Linked DNA regions of Homo sapiens: all the other regions are linked to region 1. Evidence: promoter capture Hi-C in 16 types of primary human blood cells and fetal thymus (Javierre and others, 2016). All regions are on one chromosome and are shown on one strand. The core of a region is centred on a gene start or on the middle of the fragment in contact, and the rest is flanking DNA. Distances in the headings are between cores, read along the strand shown. Region 1 holds the start of FAM162A (family with sequence similarity 162 member A). Region 2 overlaps EAF2 (ELL associated factor 2). Region 3 overlaps IQCB1 (IQ motif containing B1).

What was found. Contacts are between HindIII fragments. The CHiCAGO score rates a contact against its expected background, and 5 or more counts as called.
Region 2: a contact is called between a fragment that was not itself captured here and the fragment with the promoter of FAM162A in region 1, in 1 of 17 cell types (M2 macrophages). The highest score is 5.0, in M2 macrophages.
Region 3: a contact is called between a fragment that was not itself captured here and the fragment with the promoter of FAM162A in region 1, in 1 of 17 cell types (monocytes). The highest score is 5.0, in monocytes.

What each region holds. Positions count from the first base shown.
Region 1 is chr3:122,382,878-122,385,618 of GRCh38, reverse strand. It overlaps FAM162A (family with sequence similarity 162 member A), which reads right to left and starts at 1,437. Exons shown (of 5, transcript NM_014367.4): 1 at 1,320-1,437. The coding sequence starts at 1,353. MIX23 (mitochondrial matrix import factor 23) reads left to right here and starts at 2,388. Exons shown (of 5, transcript NM_001017928.4): 1 at 2,388-2,445. The coding sequence starts at 2,395. RefSeq lists enhancers at 1,253-1,302, 1,126-1,626 and a silencer at 1,393-1,542. The HindIII fragment of the contact is 2,247 bases long and covers 658-2,741 here.
Region 2 is chr3:121,849,605-121,852,429 of GRCh38, reverse strand. The region is part of intron 2 of EAF2 (ELL associated factor 2); the gene reads right to left. Among named protein-coding and RNA genes, the nearest start is that of EAF2, 16 kb to the right of the region's middle. The HindIII fragment of the contact is 2,049 bases long and covers 482-2,530 here.
Region 3 is chr3:121,806,312-121,809,155 of GRCh38, reverse strand. It overlaps IQCB1 (IQ motif containing B1), which reads left to right. Exons shown (of 15, transcript NM_001023570.4): 6 at 147-240; 7 at 1,713-1,812. Among named protein-coding and RNA genes, the nearest start is that of IQCB1, 27 kb to the left of the region's middle. The HindIII fragment of the contact is 1,332 bases long and covers 875-2,206 here.

The DNA.
Region 1 (2,741 bases), core at 188-2,687:
ATAAATATATTCTCAAAGCAAGAAGATGAACTACTTACAATATACTCAGTATTAGTTCAAAGATGTCAAAGTAGTTCCAAGATGTCAAAGTTCTTTTCATGCAGTCCATTTTAACTTTTTTACAGAGCAATGATCCTTTCACTTGCCTTGTTGAAAAGCTTCATAATGTTAATAGGATGTACAGAAGATATTTTAGGTGAATTAGTTCAACAAAACTGACAAAATCAATGAAATCATAGTATTGAGGATTTTAGTGGAAGAAGTGTTTGCTTTTAAAGGAAGTAAATATAATAATACTCTCTAGTTTGAGACATGTTTTCCAGTCCATTCTCTACCGGAACACTAGATAAGCTGTGTAAAGGATAATCTTGAGGTGGGGAAGGTTATGTATCAAACTTGTGAAACTATGCAACATTCACTCTTTTTTTTTGCATTACTTCATTTACATTACAATATATATTTATATTATTTGAATAGCCAAGTTTGGGGCTATTTTTCCTTTAAAAATTTAATTAACAACTTTTTAATAATGTAGTGTGTGCCATTGAACAAAAGATCTCTGGTACCCAGAAAAGAGTCAAAATGCAAGCCCTCTGATTTCTCAACCCCTACTATGCCAAGGCTCTGCTGGTTCTCCCAAAAAAAAAGAATTAAGCTTTCATTACCTAAGTCCAAAATAGTCATCACACAAATGTCTACCACCAAAACAAACTGCAGATCCTTCAATTACACACTTCCTCCAAGAAATTCGAATCAATTAATTGTATAAGTGTTTAAAAGTAATGTATCCTCCATTTTAAGAAAACAATTATTATTAATCTCTAAGACCTAAATCCTTGGCCTAATCAGACATTTAATGAGTGGGGAAACTTCAGACTGGAGGTTTTCTGGGATAAACTCCAGAGAGGAAGGAGCAGGGGGAAGAGGGAAGACTCAAGGAGAGCAATAGATAGGGGAGGTTAGGGTGGAAAGCTGAATGCATGGGTAAAGGGGAGGTCTAGGGATAGTAGGTGCTTTACAGACTGAGCTCAGGGGAGGCTGAGGACGGGGGTGGGGAGAAGGGTAGGCGCGTGGGCAGTTAAGTTGGTGGGAGCTGGGTGGATGGAGATGAGGGTAATTCACGGGCAGTCTCCAATGCCTATCAGCAGCTGCTCACCTAGTTCCCTCCCACATGGCTACTAAGTAGGTAGGATTCTGAGGAACCGAGAAAGTGCGTCATGGAATGGAGCCACTCCGGGGCCCAGGAAGGCTTCAGGATTCCCCCACCCGCAGCGGCCGGGCCAGCTCCCCTACCTCCCATATCCCGACCGGCGTCTCACCTGCTGCCAGGCGCAGACCGCTGAGGCTCCCCATGGCCACTTGCTACTCCGCCGACCAGCGCAGAACTTCGCCGGGGACGGTGGCGCTGGTGAGCTCAATGTCACCCAGCGTTGGAGTGGGAAGGACGCAGGCGGCGCCGGGGGGCGGGGCGTGCGCGACGCGGTGTACAGGCCTGCGCCAGTGCGGGGCGTGTAGGACGTGCGCCACGCGCTGGAGACCCGCGGCGCCAGCCTAGTGCCCCTGGCGCCGCATCCTGAGCCAGCCTCGGAGATGGTCCTGTGGAGTGTGGCGCCGTGGGCCCTTGCCCTAGCGGATATGTACCCATGGGAGTACCTGTGTGAAATAGAAAGGAAATGTGCAACTTTCGTGATCTGTAAACTCCCGAAATACACCAGATAAACCAGTATTCCAGTATGCCGCTCTTCCAGTGTTTTCAATGAACATATGCTTTTATCAGAAAACACATAATTGGACTCTGCTCAGTGGCCCTATCTCTTGTTGGAGCATCCCTCAGGCTAATCTGAGAAATTAACATGTATGTTTTCAATTTGTTTTCTATTTACCTATTTTCTAAAAACATTTGATCATCTCCATCCTAAACACTTTACTCATACCCACCCACACTGCCAGAAATGCCGTTTTTTCTTGACGTTTCTTAGTGGTCCCAAATTCTTAACAAAGACCCCCCTGCTCCAGGGTCCGGGGAGGAGGTTAGGCACTGGAGTGAGAGGTATTAGAAAGGCCTCACTTGCCTAGATTTCCTTCAACGACCTGGTAGGGGAACCACAAGGAAATTGTTTCCCTTTTGTGAAAAGATGGGATTGGAGTAAACAGTCCCTTCAAGGTCTGACAATCTTTGATCCATGTATCTGGCCCAGTTCCAGGAGGACATGTTAAAAGGGTTGGGACAGCAGGGTGACAGGTTCCGAGGTGGATGCGGACCACGTTGAACTCAAGCCTTGCACTCAGCTTTCCTAAGGATTCCCCTCGTACTATATTTTTTGTCAGGCGACTCCGCGGTCACCTTTGCTCCGCGGTGATTGGCCTGCAGCGGGGTCCTCGTGTTTGTCCAATATGGCGGCGCCCAGTGGCGGTGTGAACTGTGAGGAGTTCGCCGAGTTCCAGGTGATGGGGTTTTCCTCATGTGGCAGGCATGTGCCTCCTTTTGTCCCCAGACCCTATTCCCTGCTTTGCGAGGGAGTATGAACCAGCTTTGGAAAAAGCGGGCAATTCAAAGCTCTTTTCTCGAGCCATTGGAGGTCATGGGGGGCGCGGGTTTGGCCTTAGGGAGCGAGGCTGCTCTGTAGGAGGAGGGAGGAGGGGGGTCATAGTTCTCTCCGCGGCTCTCCGGCCTTGTCTGGGAAGCTCTGGGTAATCTGCTGTGGTAAAGCTCGGGATGCGTGGATAAGGATTGTAACAAT
Region 2 (2,825 bases), core at 257-2,756, 530 kb after region 1:
CCTGGTAAGCTGGAGAGTCAGGAGCATGATTATAACCAAACAAAGTGGGTCTACTTGGCTGGTAAGTAAATTTTTCAGATGTGTTGACTGAAACAAGTAAGATACCCCAAAATAGTTACCTAAGGACTCCAAATTACAGTTGATAAGAGATTTGTGCAAGATATTCTTAATGATATCTGTACTCTTAATTAGAATGGAATACATCTAAAAATTACAATGTATTATTGTTCTCTGAGCTCCTGAAAATAAGAACTAATCATTAATTTTTAAAAAATTGCTCTCAGCACCTGAAGAAGTATCAAGACCTTTATAAATATTCAATGAAGGTTAAATATGAATAATATAGACAATTTCTGGTCATAAGTAACAAATGAAACAAATCTTTCATAATCTCTACACCTGCCATCTACATTTTGAACAAGTTTTATAAATGTAAACTTTCTCCCTCATTAAATTGAACACCATTCCTAACTTTTAAGCTTCAGTTTCTGTCCATTCCTTATTCAATACCCCAAGAAAGGCAACTACTAAAGTACCAGACAACTACTAAGCATATGAACTATCATTGCCTCTAAATAACTATTGAATACCACCTATCGGCTCCATGTTCACTGTGATGACACACCTTCAATCGTCATTCACCTAGATTATTGTTATTCTCCTCCCTACTCTCTTTCCAATTTTGTTCCCCATTCTGTGAGCAGGCAAATCTAATCGTATTGTTCCCTTGCTTAAAAATCTTTCTGTGCTTAAAAAACTGTGTATTCAGATAAAGCCATATTCCATAAACCTGCACATGGACCCTCCATGATCTTCTCATCTACTCTCCAACTTTCTTAATTTGCCACTGTTTACAAACCACATAGAATTGCTTATAATTGGTTCACATGAATGACTGACTTAGGATTGTCAACCAAAAGACAAAACTGTAAAATAAAATATAAAATAAGTGAGTGGGTCATGTGTGGTGACTCATGCATGTAATCCCACCATTTTAGATGGCTAAGGATCACTTGAGCCCAGGAGTTTCCGACCAGCATGGGCAACATGGGGACAACCTGTGTCCACAAAAAAAAAACTAAAAATTAGCTGGGCATGGTGGTGCACATTTGTAGTCCTAGCTGCTTGGAAGGCTGAGGCAGGAGGATTGCTTGAGCCCAGGAGTTGGAGGCTGCAGTGGGCTATAATTGTGCCACTGCACTCCAGCCTGAGTGGCAGAATGAAATCTTGTCTCTAAAAAATAAATAAAATAAGTGCGTGCATATGTTATTTGAGGGAATAAAAGGACTCTTAACCATACAACAAAGGAATCAGAACCAACACCTCAACATAGGGGAATGAAGAGAAAATATAAATATAAATAAAAGAAGTGATAAAAGAAATCTGGCTATTTATATATACTTAACTTTAAATGGATAAGAATAGACTTGGCCGGGCACGGTGGCTCACGCTTGCAATCCCAGCACTTTGGGAGGCCAAGGGAGGTGGATCATCTGAGGTCGGGAGTTTGAGACCAGCCTGGTCAACATAGTGAACCCCCAACTCTACTAAAAATGCAAAAAATTAGCTGGGCATGGTGGCGGGCACTGCCTGTAATCCCAGCTACTTGGGAAGCTGAGGCAGGAGAATTGCTCGAACCCAGGAGATGCAGGTTGCAGTGAGCCAAGATTGCGCCACTGCACTCCAGCCTGGGTGACAGAGTGAGACTCCGTCTCAAAAAATAATAAAAAAAAGAATAAGAATAGACTGTCTGAGAATGTATAATGTAAGAGCTAAATAAGTATTCTTGACATGAAGATATTCTATAATGTAACACAATATCTTGGCAAAAACTTAGGTGCTTGGCTGAGGTGGAAAGAAAGAGAAGTGGAAGGGAGGAGAAAAAAAGTCTTATTATTAAGGGATAATAAATGTATTCTAAAAATCTCACTTGATAGAGGTAGGAAAATAATGGAGGAACTCAGTTTTCATATAAGAAAATAAAATCATATGCCTCATTATGAACACCAGGAAAAGAAAATAATCAATAATGGAATGGAAAAGTATACTAGTACTCCCAAAGTAATAAGAGTAATCAAAAAAAGCAATGAAAAAAAAATCAAAGACAAAGGGAAAAAAAGAAATGGTTGGTAAAACTAATAAAGAATATAAAAGAAGAAACAACAAATATTTAAAAACTAATAAACTATAAGATAAAAATCAAGTATATCAATTTTGAACTAAATGTGAATAGACTGAATAGACAGTATTCTCCCAATAAAAATAGAAAGTGCCAAACTGGGTTTAAAAATAAAACAGCATACTATATTAACAAAAGATATACTTCATACAAAATGTCAGCTAAATAAAAGGAAGAAACACTAAGATTCTATGAATACACAAAAGAAAAAAAGTAAAGATAGCTATATAAATATCAGCTAAATAAAAGGAAGAGACACTAAGATTCTGTGAACACACAAAAGAAAAAAAGGTTGATATATATATATATACATACATATATATATATATCAGAGAAGTAGGCACTTAAGCTTAAAAACACAAAAATAGGACAAAAATGTTATTTTGTAATAATTAAAGATATACTTCATTAAAAAATATAACTTTAAAACAATGTTAAAATAGGACTCTGGTCCTAAAATCAGATGAGGTCCCAAGAATGTAATGGACTATGTTCCTGTGTCGGCTAAGTAAACCCATTGGAGAAAACCAGACTAGGTTCATTTGGGAAGGGACTTTGCCCAAGAGGGTCATCTGGAGTACCCCTCATACATATAGGAGCCTCATAAGTGTAGGATTTGAGGGTTGAATTATACATAACCACTAGA
Region 3 (2,844 bases), core at 291-2,790, 580 kb after region 1:
AAAGGCAACAAAATCATGTCCCTCATAAATAGCTAAGTTAGATCCAGAAACTGTATCCTCTAACTCCCCAGAGAGAAGTCTCCTTAAAAAAAAAAAAAAGGAAAAAAACTATAGAAAAGTAAACTGGGCTTATCTTTTATGTTAAGGCTGAAGAAAAAGATGAATTACTACACTTTTTCCAAATTGTGACTGATTCTCTCTTCTGGCTTTTGGGAGGCCATGTTGAACTTATTCAGAATGGTAAGAGAAAAGATTTTAATGTAACTAATAGCTATTGTAGAGTCAACTGCTAACAGTTTGATCGTTTTTTCCAAAAACAAATGCCACATGAACTGTGCAGATAACCACACTGAAATGAAACCATGTTGAAATAAGCTCACAATTTTTTAAAATGGATATTCCAGTTTTACATAGCCTACATCAACAATGTGAATATTAAATTAAGGAGAATACTGTTGAAATAAAACTTTAGCTTTTTCTGTTTAGCAAATCTAAGATAAAGACAAATGATAATTTGAGCAGTTTATTCCTAAAAATAACTTTTAAGTTTAAAAGATTACAGTCAGTGTTTTAGACCTATCATGAGAGAAATCCCTATGTTCAGGGTGGATATGATTTAACTCATATAGTCTAACTATCCAAGTAAGAGTAAGCTTTTATTTAATGACCTTTTAGTAAACTTGGAAGTTATAGGATATTTCTGTTTACATTGAGAGATATAAACATGTATGAGTTTTATGTTTTCTTAAGACTGAAAAAATAATTCTTAGTTACATTCATGGTGCTCTCCCTAGAAAAATTTCATCTAATATAGATGTAACACTCTTAAGAATATTTTTTAAGTAATACTTGAACTGAAATTTTACTTTAAGCTTTTCTCCTCAGAATCATTGCATGCACATAATTTAAAGAGTCAAATAGTTCTGTAAGGATCATTAAAACACACACAATCCCTGACCCTCATGCCCACTCCATTTCCCATTTTCCAAAGGCAACTACGTTCAGTTAGTATAACTAATACCTTTGGTAGTTATGCTCAGTTATTGAGCATGGAATGGAATGGAAACTGACATTTATTAGAAATGTTCCCTGTTCTAGGATATTTTACATTAGCTCATGTGAGAGCTATTATTTCTAGTTTTACAGATGAAGAAATGGTTTCTAAGAGGTTAAGCAACTTGTATAAGTATCCAGTGCTAAATCGTTATAACTGGCTGCTCAGAGCTTAAAGATTACAAATCAATAAAAGGAAATTTTTGTAGTTAGCGTATTCATTATTATATAAAACAATATGTCACAAAATTAAATTTTTTAAGGTTGTGAGCAACCAATTATAGTCATCTGTGCCATTTCCGTTTCCTTATATTCTGTCTTTGCAGGAAATTTGTTTTTATTCACTGAAATTCATTGATAGAAGAAAAAGATTCAGATTTAGGATATGATATTTTCAATTTAAAGAGATAACAATAGATTCTTAGCTTAGTATTTATGCCTATTTTCTGACTATATTCATAAAAATGAAATGACTTATTTATCGCTATTTAAAATTGCCATGAATTTTACATCTTAAAGTCTTCTTTATCGTAGAGTCTACAAAGTCAGAAAGTTTAGCAGAGATGGTCATGCTTTGATTTGGTTTGAAAAGAACAAAATCTTCCTTTGTTATCATAAAATCTTTACTTTAATCTTTCTTTTTTTTTCTTTTCCTTTAGTACTACAAAGTGATCATTTCTTACATTTACTGCAAGCTGACAATGTCCAAATAGGATCTGCAGTCATGATGATGCTACAGAATATACTACAGATCAACAGGTGACTTGGTTTTTACAAAATGTTACTGCTTTTTTTTTATCAGAAGCATTACCAATTTTATTCCAATTTTGCTAAAATTGACCGCATATGATTTGTATATAATGTATATACAAGTATATGCACTATATACTCGTATATAATGTATATACAAGTATATGCACTATATACTTGTATATAATGCTGAAGTTCCATCACCATTGTCTTTCAGAAAAATTAATATAAAATACTACAAAAGACTGGAAATTTATTATTAAATTGATACCTTATACCAGAGCTTAAGATTTTTAGCTCAAATCTCAGGCTTAAAGAAGAGAATTAGTGTGATAATCTGAAGAAAAATATTGAGATCACAACAAAAAATGTTTAATCACATTTATTTAATAAACTTCAAGCTTGGTATTTTTACAGATGCTCAAGAAGGGTATAAAAGAAGCAATTGGCAATTATTCAGGGTAACATGGAAGGGCAGAGTATACACAATTGAAATAATCCATTCTTTCAGTTTAGTATGAATTTATTATGCAGCTGCTGTCTGTCATTGCAATTATAGAGTTGATTAAGATATAAACCTTGTCTTCAAAGAGCTTACAATAGAATGGAAAACACAAACATCATTGTATACATTAAATTACAATATTAAAAGTGACCATAAATGTTAAAGGACCTTCTAACCCAAACCGAGGGGAGGTGCTTCCTGGAGAAGGTAATATCTGAGATGAAACTTCAAGGATGGTATATTGGCCAGGGAGGAAGAGGAGAAAGAGAAAGCAGTAATTCCAGGCAACATAAACAAAAGCACAGAGATAAGAAACAACATGCTGAGGATGAAAAGTAGGTACAAATTCATTATTGTTGGGATATAAAGTTCCATATAGGGAGGTGACTAGCAAGCTCGGCTGAGACTCAAAGTCATGAAGAATTTATATGCTGTGTTGAGGAAACGGAGTCTAATCCTATAGGCAACGGGGACCATTGAAGATTTTTAAAGTAGACGAAAGTGGTCAGATTACATTTCAATTTTGTTACTCTGGT